2 separate regions of the Homo sapiens genome follow, and region 2 is linked to region 1. The links are contacts of gene promoters, found by promoter capture Hi-C in blood cells and fetal thymus (Javierre and others, 2016). All regions are on one chromosome and are shown on one strand. Each heading gives the region's core, a stretch centred on a gene start or on the middle of the fragment in contact. The rest is flanking DNA. Distances are from core to core; before and after follow the strand shown.

The links. The method cuts DNA at HindIII sites, captures the fragments that hold promoters and counts their contacts. A CHiCAGO score of 5 or more calls a contact.
Region 2: a contact is called between the fragment with the promoter of ANKS3 here and the fragment with the promoter of NUDT16L1 in region 1, in 4 of 17 cell types (erythroblasts, M1 macrophages, M0 macrophages and 1 more). The highest score is 6.6, in erythroblasts.

The regions. Positions count from the first base shown.
Region 1 is chr16:4,691,974-4,699,033 of GRCh38, forward strand. NUDT16L1 (nudix hydrolase 16 like 1) reads left to right here and starts at 1,589. Exons shown (of 3, transcript NM_032349.4): 1 at 1,589-1,906; 2 at 2,005-2,265; 3 at 2,985-3,871. The coding sequence starts at 1,754. The coding sequence ends at 3,206. It overlaps ANKS3 (ankyrin repeat and sterile alpha motif domain containing 3), which reads right to left. Exons shown (of 18, transcript NM_133450.4): 13 at 6,827-6,968; 14 at 6,454-6,626; 15 at 6,004-6,089; 16 at 5,360-5,443; 17 at 5,044-5,131; 18 at 4,538-4,923. The coding sequence ends at 5,055. RefSeq lists enhancers at 1,160-1,249, 1,501-2,008, 2,009-2,516, 3,119-3,619 and silencers at 1,440-1,799, 1,910-2,409. The HindIII fragment of the contact is 13,448 bases long and covers 1-7,060 here.
Region 2 is chr16:4,732,010-4,739,040 of GRCh38, forward strand. ANKS3 (ankyrin repeat and sterile alpha motif domain containing 3) reads right to left here and starts at 2,262. Exons shown (of 18, transcript NM_133450.4): 1 at 1,929-2,262. It overlaps DNAAF8 (dynein axonemal assembly factor 8), which reads left to right and starts at 2,528. Exons shown (of 10, transcript NM_139170.3): 1 at 2,528-2,689; 2 at 4,455-4,634; 3 at 5,791-5,937. The coding sequence starts at 4,506. RefSeq lists silencers at 2,048-2,107, 2,158-2,387. The HindIII fragment of the contact is 25,292 bases long and covers 1-7,031 here.

The sequences.
Region 1 (7,060 bases), core at 339-2,838:
GGAAAGCCCGTGTTCTAGCCCATCAGTCCCTGCCCCGAGAAGGCTGCCACCCATGGGCCCTGCAGCTGCTCTGACCTGCCTGGGTCTGGCCCCATCCCAGTGTGGGTAGAGGGGTGCCCAGGGTGTCAGACGGGTGCTTGCATGGGCCAGATGGGCTCCCCCTCTGTACCTCCCAGAAGAGCCAGCGCTTGTATTGATGTCTGGTCTCGGGGAGGGGCTGCAGCAAGGGGAGCCTCTCCTCCTCTGCCCCTGCGTCCCACGGGCCCTGGGCGCTGGCTGGGCTTGGCTGCCTAGGGGTGGGGCCCTCTTTGGGTGAGAGGACCCTTCCCCTCGCTGCCCTCTCGCCTTCTCACATGGTCGCTCACTCTGGAATCTGGACTTCCCCTGCTGCTTGCAGCTGTCCCATGTGACCCCTGACCCACTGGTGGCCACAGGAGGAGAGAGAGGTGCCCTCTCTGGGTCCTTATTCTCCACATCTGAGGCCACCACGGACCTAACAGGTGAGTTTCCAATGCCCACCCTCTCCCTCTCTCTTCTCCTGCCTGCCTCCACTGAAGGCAGCCTTCTCTGTGCCAGCGAGCTCGGCCTCACTGCACGGCTCTCCCGAGGCTGTGCCCCAGCCCTGGGCACCCATGCTGTGAGTGCAGGCAGGGGGGTTCATGTGCTCAGCAAATCCATTCCCCTGGTGGGGAGGAAAGTGGCCCTGGGCCCTGCTGCTGGTGAGGTGAGCCTTGCCATCATGGAGTTCAGGGCACCTCGCTCTGCCTTGGGCTGTTTCGGATGCTTCTGAGCCCCAGAGACATCTCCAGTACAAACACAAGGTAAGTGGTAAGTACCTCAGGCCCTTGTGGAATCGGGATTCTGCCTCTGTCATCAACTGCCAGTTGTACTTAGGCAAGTTATGTCCCTCTCTGAGCTCCAAGTTCCTCATCGTAAATTGGGGAAACCCCTCTTCCCCCCACAGTACCTGGCACAGGGTGCCCGGCTTGGAGGATGCTGGAAAGGTCCAGCCCCGGAATTTAAGTCACTTTCTGCCCAGCAAGCTGGGTCCACAGAGCCCCAGAGCTCCCGGTCGTCCGCCCTGACCCAGCGTGGACTCGGGGACTGGGGCACTCAAGCCCTGCCAAGCCCTGCTCCCCGTGCTGTCCTGGATCGAGCCTGCCAGCAGGGTGGCTAGGTCGGGACAGCTGTCGTGCATGGCAGGCGAAGGCCATCTCCCTCCGGGCTTGGGTCCGGTGGCGCTGGCGGAGCAAGGCTCCGGGGCATCTCTGGCTCGTGTGGTCGTGCCAAGGGTGCCATTGCGGATGGACGGGGCCATGCGGGCCGGGTCGGCCTCCTGGGGAGAAACGGGTGGGCGCAAGGGGATCGGCGCCATCGAGGGTGGAGAAACCGCAGGGAATTTCGGCTGTCCGCTTTGGGGCGCCAAGGAAGATGTTCGTCGCCCACAATGTCAACCTTGAGCCACCACGGCACCGACCAGTCGTCTAGGCTCTCCCGTCGGAGGCGGGGCCGCCGCCCAGGGTGTGCGACTATTGGGTGACGGCTGACGCGCACCGCCCTCCTTTGCACACCGCCCGCAGCACCTCTCGACGACGCACCGCGGCGCTGCGAGGGGCTCGGTCCCGGGGCGCGCCGGCGATTGGCGGGGGAACCGGACCCGGGGGCGCGGCCGCCCGCGGATTGGCGAGGCACGGCGGGGGCGGGCTCGCGCATGCTCTTAAGTGGCAGCGGCGGGGACGGGGTCAGTGCCAAGATGTCGACGGCGGCGGTTCCGGAGCTGAAGCAGATCAGCCGGGTGGAGGCGATGCGCCTAGGGCCGGGCTGGAGCCACTCGTGCCACGCCATGCTGTACGCCGCCAACCCTGGGCAGCTCTTCGGCCGCATCCCCATGCGCTTCTCGGTGCTGGTGAGGACGGGCGAGGGCGCGGGCGAGGGTGCCGGCGCGGGCGGGCCCGGGCGGGGGCGTCCGTCGACCCCGCGGCTGTGACCCGCGCTCCCTTGCAGATGCAGATGCGTTTCGACGGGCTGCTGGGCTTCCCCGGGGGCTTCGTGGACCGGCGCTTCTGGTCGCTGGAGGACGGCCTGAACCGGGTGCTGGGCCTGGGCCTGGGCTGCCTGCGCCTCACCGAGGCCGACTACCTGAGCTCGCACCTGACCGAGGGCCCACACCGCGTCGTGGCGCACCTGTACGCGCGGCAGCTGACGCTGGAGCAGCTGCACGCCGTGGAGATCAGCGCGGTGCACTCGCGCGACCACGGCCTGGAGGTGGGGCCGCCGCCCGGGCCCCGCCCCCCGCCCCGGGGTTTGGCTCTGGCCCCGTGGAAGGCACCGATGGGTAACACGTCTCCTGAGGGTCCCCTGGCCGGGCTGGGTCGGGTGTCGCTGTCTCCAGCAATGGGGTGGGGAGAGGGGTCTGGGGCTGGGAGGCCGGGAAAGGAGGGGCGGGGGTGGGGGCCGGCGCTGGGGCTCCCTCAGGGCTGTGTTACATCCGCCTTGCTGCCTGCCATTGCCAATCCTGGGAGTGGGGGAGTGGGATCGGTGGGGAGGAAGGGATGGGGGAGGAGCGGGGATTGCTTGGGGAGTTGGGAAACTTGAGCACAGCGGGGGTTGTAAAACTTGGGAACCTCATGTTGGGCGTGAAGGCTCTTGGGATTTGTACTTTGTGGTCTGGAAGGGCTGGACTGCGGGTGTTCAGGCTTCGTTGGGTGGACGGGGGGAGCATGGGGTGCGGACCCCGGGGTGGGGTGGCCTGGGTACGAGGGGGGGGAGTGCATGGGGTCAGCCTCCACACTTGCTTGGGGAGGAGGGGGCTGCACTGCTCCGAGGGAGCTGGCTGGCTTCTGCCAGGCCCTGCGTGGGTCTCCCATTAAGTCCTTGGCAAAGCTGGCTGCTCATACCCTGGCCTCATAGCTTCCAGGCCCCTCCTGCTGGAGGTGCCATTGTGTGGCAGGCCTGGCCCCAACCCCTACCTCCTGTCTGCGCAGGTGCTGGGCCTCGTGCGGGTCCCGCTGTACACCCAGAAGGACCGAGTCGGAGGCTTCCCCAACTTCCTGAGCAACGCCTTCGTGAGCACGGCTAAGTGCCAGCTCCTCTTTGCCCTCAAGGTGCTCAACATGATGCCCGAGGAGAAGCTGGTTGAGGCCCTGGCTGCAGCCACCGAGAAGCAGAAGAAGGCCCTGGAGAAGTTGCTCCCGGCCTCCTCTTGAGGGCTGCCTGAGCTGGTGGCACCCTCCCCTGGGCCGGAAGACTGGGAATTCCTGCTAAGTGTGGCTTCTAGAGTGTTTGTGTGTACCCCGCTTCTGACTGCCTAGGGCGAGTGGGCATCCTGTCATCATCTCCACTGTCCCAAGCAGTCACTAGGTGGCGGCCGGGCCAGCTGGAACCCAGCCCATCCTCTCAGGCAGAGCAGGGTGGTCCGGGCACACTGGGCCTGCCTCTCCAGCCTCAGGATGCTCTTGTTTATTCTGGGCTCAGACCCTCCTCTTGTACGTCTCATCACAGCTGGTAGAGACCCAGGAGTGCCTGATTGTCCCACAGGGGTGGCGCACAGCTCTGGGACCACTCAGAAGATGGGATGTGTGGGTGGAGGATGCCTTGTCTCGGTCAGCTCATTCCTGCCTCCTTCCTGAGCCAGTTCAGGGCCTGGGGGAGAGCCAGCTTGGGGTAGGAAGTTAATAATACTGTTAATTTGGGTTGTTGTTGGATTTACTTTGCTAGATTTTCTCTTTCACCACGTGTGAACTGTGGGTGAGGTTTCAAAGTAGCTTCACCCCACGTGGCTTGGTTCCCAGGGACAGTCAGGGCCTCGGGGGCCCAGCTATGTACAACGAAGCTGTCGAAGGAGAAGACAATAAAGTCGCTCCGCAGCTGCTCTGTGTGTTTCTCAGCTGCCCTGTGTGTTTGTTTTGGTTCTGGATGGAACCAGCTCAGGCCCCCTGCCCTAGGTGGGGGAGGGAGGAGCTGCCCCAGCCAGGGGCACGTTTGTTCCCCAGTGTTTACTGGGGGCACTCCCAGCATGAATGCTGTGCCCATCAGCCAGGTTGGGGCGTCTGGGCCGAGACCTTCAGGGCAGGCTCCCCTTCCTGATCCTGGTGGCCCTGGCTGCACCTGGGCTGACCTGCTTTGCTTTGCAAACCCACCATTCCCCACTGTCTGCAAGCAGCTCCAGGGGATGGTGTAGAAGTGCAGGCTTACTGTGCAGAAGGACAGCAGCAGAGCCATCCCTCGTGGTCTCCTACAGCCCCACATCTGGAAAGACTCCAGCGGCATCGTCAGAAAATTTGCACAGCCCATGCCTGGCCCGGTGAGGGAGGCAGTGTGCCCAGCTCCATCTCAGAGCTCGGTGTGAGAGCAGCATGTCCCGGGGGAGGCCCTGTGCTACGGCGGGCTGGGGATGTTCTTGGCTCTCAAAGCCTTATCTTGAGTTGTCTGGGCTCCAGGAGCAAAAGACACACCCCTGAACAGCAGAGGACAGGGCAGTCAGGGTTGCTGCATTGGCCAGTGCCTCATGTCATGTGACCAGAACTGAGCCCTTCACTAGCTGTTCTTAAATTTTATTTTCCAAAAAATGGCATTTTCCAGGTGCCCCAGTCCTCATTCCTAAGGTCCCACCTCAGTTGGCACCTGTGCGTGTATATGGATACACTTTCCCCCCAGGGCCCTGCCTGGTATGGGCCAGGGCAGCCCATGAACTCTGGGCCTCACCACGAGGTTCTGGGTGAGGCCCTCGTCCCGCCTCAGTGCTGGCCCGAGCTGCCGAGCCAGGGCCGCAGCCCCCGTCTTGCCTCTGTCTGCCGGCTGCTCCCGGGGCCTGATCCTCTGGCCCCCACTGGGCCTGGGCTGCACATGGCAGCTACCTGCTCACTGTCCTCCTCACTCCCTGGCACACAGCTTCAGGGTGGACCAATCACCCAACGTCAGATTCTGAAAGAAAAAGCCCCGGTGAGAAGGGAGGGGGACAGGTGGGTGCATACCCACACCTGCAGCCGCCCAGACAGGCCCTGCTGCTCCCACCACGCGGGATCCAGGCTGGCAGACACTCACCGGCCCGCAGGCTAGGTCTCCCGCCACTTCTTCCCGTTCAGCACCTGCAGCTTCTCCAGGCTCTGGGTCACTAAGCACAGTGCTTGCCCTGAGGAATGATGACCTTGAGCCTCTCCCGGCCAGGCTCAGGAGGGCTGGGTGGTGCTGCCCCGGGGTCTCAGCTGCAGGATGTGACCTGCCCCTCACCCGTTATGGCCCCAGCCCCGAGGTCAGCCTTGGGGTAGAGAGACACAAACCCGCTTTCCCTGGAAAGGGGTCCCTTTGCCTCCCTCGGAAACAAAAGGAGCGCTCAGTCGTCTGGTCCCCGGAGACTCACCCATCTCACGGACACGGTCCTCCAGGGCTCCCGAGAGCTCGGGGAGGCTCATGGCCTGCAGGGACGCTTGCCAGCCCTTGGAGTCTGTGGTGCAGGTGCAGGGACCGAGTTAGCTGGGGGTCTGCGTCCCCACAGGCCCTGCTTTATTCTGAGCCCATGCAACCAGGAGAACCTGCTTGGATCAGAACCTCCCTACCCGCCTGACAGTGTCTAAGCAACCTCCCAAGGCCGAGGCAGGGAAGCCCTGTTGTGCCCTTCCTCCCACAGGCTGAGCAAACACTACGAGGCCCGGGTCAGCCCGAGAGAAGGCAAAGCTCTGCCGGTGGGGACCCGGGTCTGGGCCCTGGCTGGAGGCTACAGAAGTCACTGGCGGTCTCAGCACAGCACAGCCAGCCAAGGCACAGGGCCTTTCTCGAGTACCTCCTACCCCTGGGGGATAGGCAGTTTTCCTGTCACAGGTGAGGAAGTGGGCTTGGGTCCCCAGGGCCCCCTCTTTTCCTTGGACTCTGGGATCATGTGCACACAGGGACCTGGGAGAGTGGCTGCCGGCCGGAGAACCAGGCCAAGCCCACTGGGTCAAACCTGGCTTCAGGGCTCCCCCACCTTCCCCTCTGCCCAGTGCGGAGTCAGGCCACTGCTCTTACCAGCTGGGGGGACGGCTAGGCCCAGAGTGGCTGCACCAGGGGGCTGGTCCTGCCTCACTCGAGATGACAGCTCAGCTTGACAGGCTCTGCCAGACACAGAAACAAATATTGGTGAGAGCAGAGGCCTGGCCGCTGCAGAGCCCCCACCTCAGACCTTCTAGGGGAGGGAGGGGCTCAGCCCTGTCCTTGCAGCTGGCCCTCATGGGCTGGGCCAGTGCCCCATGAGGCTGCACTAAAGAGCAGGAGGGCGACCGGTGCAGATTCCCGGACCCAACTCCTGCCTGGGTCTGCCTGCAGGAAGGAAGGGCCTGATGAAATGGGGGTGGGGTGGCTCCAGACCCTGAAATCCACCCCTCAGTTACAAAATCAGGAGGAAAGGATGTGTGGGGGCCCAGGGGCCAGGTGGCTGACCACTGGAGACCCAGCCCAGGGCAGCTCAGAGCCACTCACCGCAGCTGGTCCAGGACGAGGGCAGCATCCCGGGCCAGGGCCCACGTCTCCCGCAGCCGGGCCTGGAGGTCCTCGCGGGCGCGGTCCTGCTCCAGCAGGCAGCTCTCCACCACGGCGCGCAGCTCCTGCTCCTGACACACCTGGCCCCGCGTGGCCTCTACCTCCTCGCAGCGCTGCAGGGGGGTGGGGGGCGCGGGGAGGCTGGGAGGTGGCCGGTCAAGCCAGACCCTTGGCCACGGCCCTGTCCTGTGTGTGGGGCCCTCTCCCCACTGCATCCACCTGACCCCTCCACACAGCACCCACCTTTTCTGTCAGAGATGGAGCCAACTCACGGGTGTCACCCTGCCCCCCCATCCCCCACCCAGCCACTCACCTTGTGCAGCTGGATGGCGAGCTCCTGCATCTCAGCCTCCAGCCGGTCGGCGTAGGCCAGCTCCAGGGCATCCCCGGGTGGGCGGGCACTGCTGTGCCAGCGGGCAATGGCGGACGTCATCTTCCTCTTGGGCCCAAACAGCCTGCGGGGGGAATGTGACCAGGATATGCCTCAGCGTCCCAAGAGCGCTTACATGAGTGGGAGTTTGCCCCAACCCCGGGCTGAGGGCCAGAG
Region 2 (7,031 bases), core at 1,012-3,511, 41 kb after region 1:
AGGACCTCAGTTTCTATTAAAGAATGCTTCCAAGCCCCAGGTGACAGCCAAGATGGCTAAAGAAACAAGCCACCAATGTGGGAGACGAACACTTCACAGACCCTTGGTGAAGAGTGTGTGTAGGTGCGGTGGGGCAAGCAAAGCCCTCCTTCCTGGAGCCACCACCTCTTCAGCTAGCAGAGCCCAAGATCGTGCAGTGCCCTTCCCTCACTTTGCAGGTGAGAATCCCACCCTAACAGCCCTGGCCAACGAAGCCTGGATAAGAAACCAAACGAGCTGAGGGTCAGTTCAGAGTCCCTTCCATACCTCCCTCAAGCCTTCACTGGGCATGTCTCTTCCACGCCAAAGGCCTCCTGCAGGGTGAGGCCGTGTTCTCTATTTACTGGAGACTTGCATATCTGACATCCCCAGAGGTCTGAAGGACAATGAGAACCAGACCAAGCGTGACGGACCACTTGAGGCCAGGAGTTCGAGACCACCCTGGCCAAAATGGTGAACTCCCATCTTTACTAAAATTACAAAAATTAGCTGGGTGTGGTGGTGGGCGCCTGTAGTCTCAGTACTCAGGAGGCTGAGGCAAGAGAATCGCTTGAGCCTGGGAGGCGATTGCAGTGAGCCGAGCTCAAGCCACTGCACTCCAGCCTGGGCAACAGAGCGAAATTCTGTCTCAAAAAAAAAAACAAAAAAAAAACACTAAAGTGAAAACTAAAATGTCCCATCCCGAGTGGTGTGGTGTAAAGTAGCATTAGAGATAAGACGTTTTAGTTTTCATTCAACTTTTTGGTTCTGTCCATTCTGAAAATGCTAAGTATCTGTTACCTTTACAGTGAATCCTAAAGAAAATGTGGTACTTAGACACAATGGAGTACTATTCAGCCATAAAAAAAGAATGAGATCCTATCATTTGCAAAAACATGGATGGAAGCGGAGATCGTTATGTTTAGTGAAATAAGCCAGGCACAGAAAGATAAATATTGCATGTTCTCAATTATTTGTGGTTATCTAAAAATCAAAACAACTGAACTCATGGACATAGAAAGTAGAAGGATGGTTACTTCTAGTGTAACCAAGGCTGGGAAGGGTAGTGGAGGGTGGGGATGCTTAATGGATACAAAAAAAACAGAATGAATAAGATCTAGTATTTGATCAAGCCACTGCACTCCAGCCTGGGCGACAAAGCGAGACTCCGTCTCAAAAAAAAAAAAAAAAAAAAAAAGATCTAGTATTTGACCGCACAACAGGGTGACTATAGTCAATATAATCTAATTGCACATTTTATTTATTTATTATTATTTTTTTTGAGACATAATCTCACTCTGTTACCCAGGCTAGAGTGCAGCGGCGTGATCTCGGCTCAATGCAACCTCCGCCTCCTGGGTTCAAGCGATTCTCCTGCCTCAGCTTCCCGAGTAGCTGAGATTACAGGTATGAGCCACCATGCCAGCCTAGTTTTCGTATGTTTAGTAGAGACGAAGTGTCCCCATGTTGGCCAGGCTGGTCTCAAATCCTTGACTTCAGGTGATCCGCCCGCCTTTGCCTCCCAAAGTGCTAGGATTACAGGCGTGAGTGAGCCACCGCGCCCGGCTGCACATTTAAAAATAATTCAAAGAGTATAATCATATTGTTTGTAACACAAAGGATAAATGCTTGAAGGGATGGAGACCCCCATTTTACATGTGATTATTACGAACTGCATGCCTGTATCAAAATCTCTCATATACGCCATAAATATATACACCTACTACGTACCCACAAAAATTAAAAAATTTTTAAAAATCTTAACAAATGTGATGCTGGTGGTAACTGTCACGCCCACAGAGGAGGTCTGTGAAAGCACCCAGGCACCCCCTCTCGCCCCGTGGAACCGCATCGCAAAGGTAGCTCACTGGCCCCGGGGCGGGTCCCTGGCCGACAAACCCGTAACTCACAGCAGTGACGCTTCCCGACGCCCCCCGGCCACATCCCCACAGGAACGCTACGGCGCACAGGGCATTACTGTGCCCCCACCACAACCACATAAAGAAAATGTGGGGGCTCGGTCCTCCAGTCACGCGGCGAGCAAGTGCAGCGCGGGACGCCCGAGCGCCGGGTCTAGGCGGGCTGCAGGTGCCGGCAAGTGCTGGGGCCGGGCCGCCGCGGAACCCACCTGTGCTGGGCCTCAGGCCTTGCGCCGCCCTCGGGCTGCCGTCGCCAACCCCCCCCAAACAGCTCGCCGCCACGCTCCCTCGCCGGGGCACCGCCCCCGGCACCCGCCCCGGAAGTAGTTGCGGGAGGGCGCGGAGCACGCCGGGAAGCTCGCGGGTCGGCACCGGGACAGCTCCCGGGCGCCGTGGAATGCACACGTCCCGCACCCGGACCTTCCGGTCAGCTTCCCGGCTCGCTGTCTGATGCCCGCGGTAGCCAATGAGCTAGTGGTGTTTGTCCTGCTCCGTCCCCGCCCTCCAGGGGAACCAATCCCATTGCAGGAGAGGCAGGACGCGCAAAGGCCCGAAAGAGGAGCTGGGCGGGGTGGGGGGAAGGCGGAGGCAGTCTAGTAATGTAAAGCTCCGCTGAGAGGGAGAGTGCTGAAGAAGGGGACAGCCTCTGTACCTGCGGCGCGGCCCGAGGGGCGGACGCGAGCGGAGTGACGCGCTGGAGGCTGTTTATAGCGCTGTCAGGACAGCGCGGGGAGTGGAGGCAGAGGCCTGAGGTGAGGGGCCTCGGGCCTGCTGCGCCTGCAGGGAGTTGAACAAAACGCGGGGAAATACGGGCTGGGGGTGGGTGAGAGGAGGAGCGATGGGCTTTCCACTTCCACAGCTTTAAAATTTAAAAGCTCGACCCGGGAGGCTGTTGGCGTCTGGTTGCCATAACAACCGGCAGCCTCGTGGCAGGCCGGCTGGGGGCGGGGCTCTGAGAACCGGGGCGGGGCTGTGGCGGGGCTAACAGGCTGCAGCTGAGAAACCCACCCCGAGACGGAGCCGGAAGGCCGTTATTCAGAGGCGGCTCCGAGCCTCCCCTTCGCCTTCTGGATGCTCTGAGCTCCTCAACTTGGCGTTCAGGGCCCTGCATTGTCTGGTCCGTTTTCACCGGAGAGTCCAGCAACTGACACTTTCTTCCCTTAAACCTGTTGGGCGGTTCATTCCTTTGAGCTACTGTACATGCTCTTCCTTCTGCCGGTAATGCCGTTCCCTCCCCTATTGTCTTGTCCGCCTGAAGGGTTTATCAGAGTCTCTGGAGGCCCTCTTCATCCCGACGATTCTGTTGCCCTAAGAAATACTGTGCCCTGAATTGCGGAACAGAGCTCTAGTTACAAAAAACACCCGCTGGCTGTGTGCACCAGATGCGTCCCCAACCCGCTGCTCCCAGTTCAGAGTGCACCAAGCACCTGCCCTATTCCCAGAAGTACAGAGGAAGCAAGCAGCCCCCAATTCACATCTCCTGCCGCTGCCCTGATTGGGGATGAACGGGCACTGACTGCAGGGCCAAAGCCACAGCGGCCTCTCGAGCTGCAGAGTTCTCCTGACACTGGCTCTAGAGGACCCTCACCCCCCAGCTCTCAAGCTCAAGCTCCCCAGCCCCCTGAATAACAGGACCATCTCCTTTAAGACTCTAAGATATAAATGCAGGGGCTGGTCAGAGTAGTGACTCCAAAAAAAAAAAAAAATCACTTAGTGACTCCAAACTGTCAGCCAGGCGCGATGGCACATGCCTGTAATCCCAGCACTTTGGGAGGCTGAGGCAAGAGGATCACTTGAGGCCAGGAGTTTGAGACCAGCCTGGGCAACAGGGAGACTCCATCTCTACAAAAAATAAAAATGTTAGCCAGATGTGGTGGTACACACCTGTAGTCCCAGTTATTCAGGAGGCTGAGGTGGGAGGATCACTTGAGCTCAGGAGGCCGAGGCTTCAGTGAGCTATCATTGTACCACTGCACTCTAGCCTGGGCGACAAAGCCAGACCCTGTCTCCAAAACAAAAAAGCAAGGTGTCTTCTGTTCCTTGGTAAAGGGCAGTAAAGGGTAGTAGGACTTGAAATTCCCCCTGATTCAGAGTCCACTGTTGCTATTTACTAAACACCCTGAGCCTATGAAATGAAGAGAATAGTTATGCTATATGGGGTATATATAAAATATACCTATATATCATTATATATCGTACATATGGCATTCTATATAACATGTACATATATCTACATAGGTATATTTATATCAATACATATATTTGTATATTATTATGTATATATCACTATATACATTATATACCTGCAGGCTCCACATGTGTGCATGAGTGGGAACACACACACACACGTACACACACAGTGCCTGGCACTAACAGGAGCTTGCATAACTAGAAGGAAACTGAGGCAGGTGGTGAGGCCTGCCAGCCTGTTTGGTCTCCTACAGCTGGTAGAGCAGCCCCTGCTCTCCTGACCTTCAGTGGCCCGGACCCTCTTCCATCACCCTGTGTACCCCACAGAGCTCCCCGGATTATGGTGCACTGAGAAGGCATCTGGAAGCCTGGGCCCTCATGGCATCCAACGATAAAGGCATGGCACCCTCGCTGGGCTCTCCCTGGGCCTCCCAGATGGGGCCCTGGGATGCCATCCTCAAGGCTGTCAAAGACCAGCTCCCGTCTCTGGACTCAGACTCCCCTTTGGTAAGCAAGAACTCTCTCCCTGGATGCCTTGTCCTTCCTACCAGAGCAGGCATGACGCTGGCCAGGACAGCTTTGGAGCACTTCTCTGAAGACTTTTCCTGCTGACCTGTGCAGTTTGTTGTCATTTTACTTTAAATCGCATGGCCAGACTCAAAGTTGTGTTTTCTGGGTGCCTATTTCCTTCTTTACTCTTTCTTCTGCCTTGATTGTCATCTCTGAGCATGGGTATTGGTGCTCAGCATCTTGGGAGACCCTTTCAGTGGAGTTTTTGGTGCTGACTTGGAACCCAGGTCAATTTGATGCAGAAGCTCTGTCCTTTCCATTCTGCTATTCTCCACTCTCTCGTGCCAGGACAGGGCCAGAACACCCACTGAGAATGCACAATTCCAGTGCATTGTGATAAGCCTTCGAGGGATTCTGCATTTGTGGTTTGGGGTCCCTGAAATGGCTCTCAAAGACGCTCAGACCAATAGCCCTAGGTGCAGGCATAAGACCCTGCTAAAGATGCTCCTGGCGGGGGCTGCTCAGTGCACAGGTTGGCACTGGGCGTTAAGAGACAGTATGAGGGTTTTAAAAGGAACGGGCAGGGTTTGGGTCCTACCTGGGCACCAGCAACAGAGCTTCAGGGACCTCAGACGTCATCCAGTGCATGACGAGGCTAAGGAGAACCTAAGGGGACCCCACGCCTCAGTGCTCAGGGTGTTTTCACACCTTCAGTCTCATTTGAGAGTATGAGCCCCAACCCCTTCAAGAAGACAAACTAAGCTGTGTAAGTGATGGCTCAGGGTCACAGGGGATGGGGAGGGCTGGACCCTGCTCTTTCAGCTACCACCTCACTGCCCTGTTCATGTCACGAGGCATTAATGAAGCACCTGCTGTATGCGAGGTACTTGCAGAACCAGGAGCCCCAGTCTCACCTCCACGAGGTTGTGCTGCCAAGCCCATTTCTAAACGGTGGCAAGAAGCCGCGCACAGCAAGGCTGACTGGGAGAGAACCGGATCTCCCCCAGGCTCCTGAGCAGCAGGGCTGGACGGGCTGGATGGGCTGGGCGGGCTGGGCTGGAAGTGAGAGTGGAGAGTGGAGAGCGGGGGTGGCTAGGCCCTCAGGGCTCTGCCTGCTGCCTTGTCCTCCAAAAGCCCTCTCATTTGTCCACAGTCGGACTATGGGGAAGAGGAGCTGTTCATCTTCCAGCGAAACCAAACCTCCCTGATTCCAGACCTGTCGGAGGAGCTGGCTGAAGATCCTGCCGATGGCGACAAGTCCAGGGCCTGGGTCGCTGCAGCTGAAGAGTCCCTTCCCGAGGTCTGTGGGACACAGAAGAGTATACGCCTGTGTGTGTGCGATGTTAGTCTAAACTGACTGGTCTAAACCACTGTTCTAGCATTTCCACGATATGCTAGAACATGGTCCTTTTTTTTTTCCCCCATGTACAACCCAAGGTATTCAGATGCCCAACATCTAACCTCCACGCACCTCCCTCTCCTGGGGAGCCCGGCACCTTAGGGCTGGCATGCACGCTTGATTTTCCATCCGATTTTGACCCTTCTCTTCTTCTTGATCGCTCCTATCCTGTTCTCTACCATGGCATCCTGAATAGCTTCTGGCCATTGTCACAACTGCTTGTCCTAATTGTCTCTCCCTTAACCCAGCTGGCTTCATGGCTACCTGGCTCATCCCAGCACCTGGCGAGTACACAGGAACTCTGGTTTACTAAACTGCTAAACTACACTGCTACAGGCTACAGTGGGGAGTGGGAGGGAGGAAGATGGCCCATCAGTGCCTGAGCAAGCACACAAGCTGGACCTCGTGGGAGGGACAACCCAGGAGACAATGAGCAAATGTGGACTAAGCGTGCCAACGCAGGCCTGTGTTGCCAGTGCTGGAGGCTGAGACAGAGGTTCCCATGAGGCCAGGAGTTTGAGACCAGCCTGGGCAATACAGCAAGACCCCATTTCTGGCTGAGCACAGTGGCTCACGCCTGTAATCCCAGCATTTTAGGAGGCCAGTATGGGTGGATCACTTGAAGTCAGGAGTTTGAGACCAGCCTGGCCAACATGGTGAAACCCTATCTCTACTAAAAATAAAAAAATTAGCTGGGCATGGTGGCAGGTGCCTGTAATCGCAGCTACTCCAGAGGCTGAGACAGGAGAATCGCTTGGACCCGGGGGAGCAGAGATGGCAGTGAGCCAAGATCACACCACTGCACACTCCAGCCTGGGCAACAGAGTGAGACTCCATCTAAAAAAAAAATAATAATAAAGAAAAGAAAACAGTGTAGAGGCACTAACCCACTTCCAAAATGGAGACGGGGCCTAGCTCCAGCGTAACTTCTCTCAGGTGTTCTGCTGAGAACAATTAACCTACTGAATGGGAGGGCATGGGCACCGAACCAGATC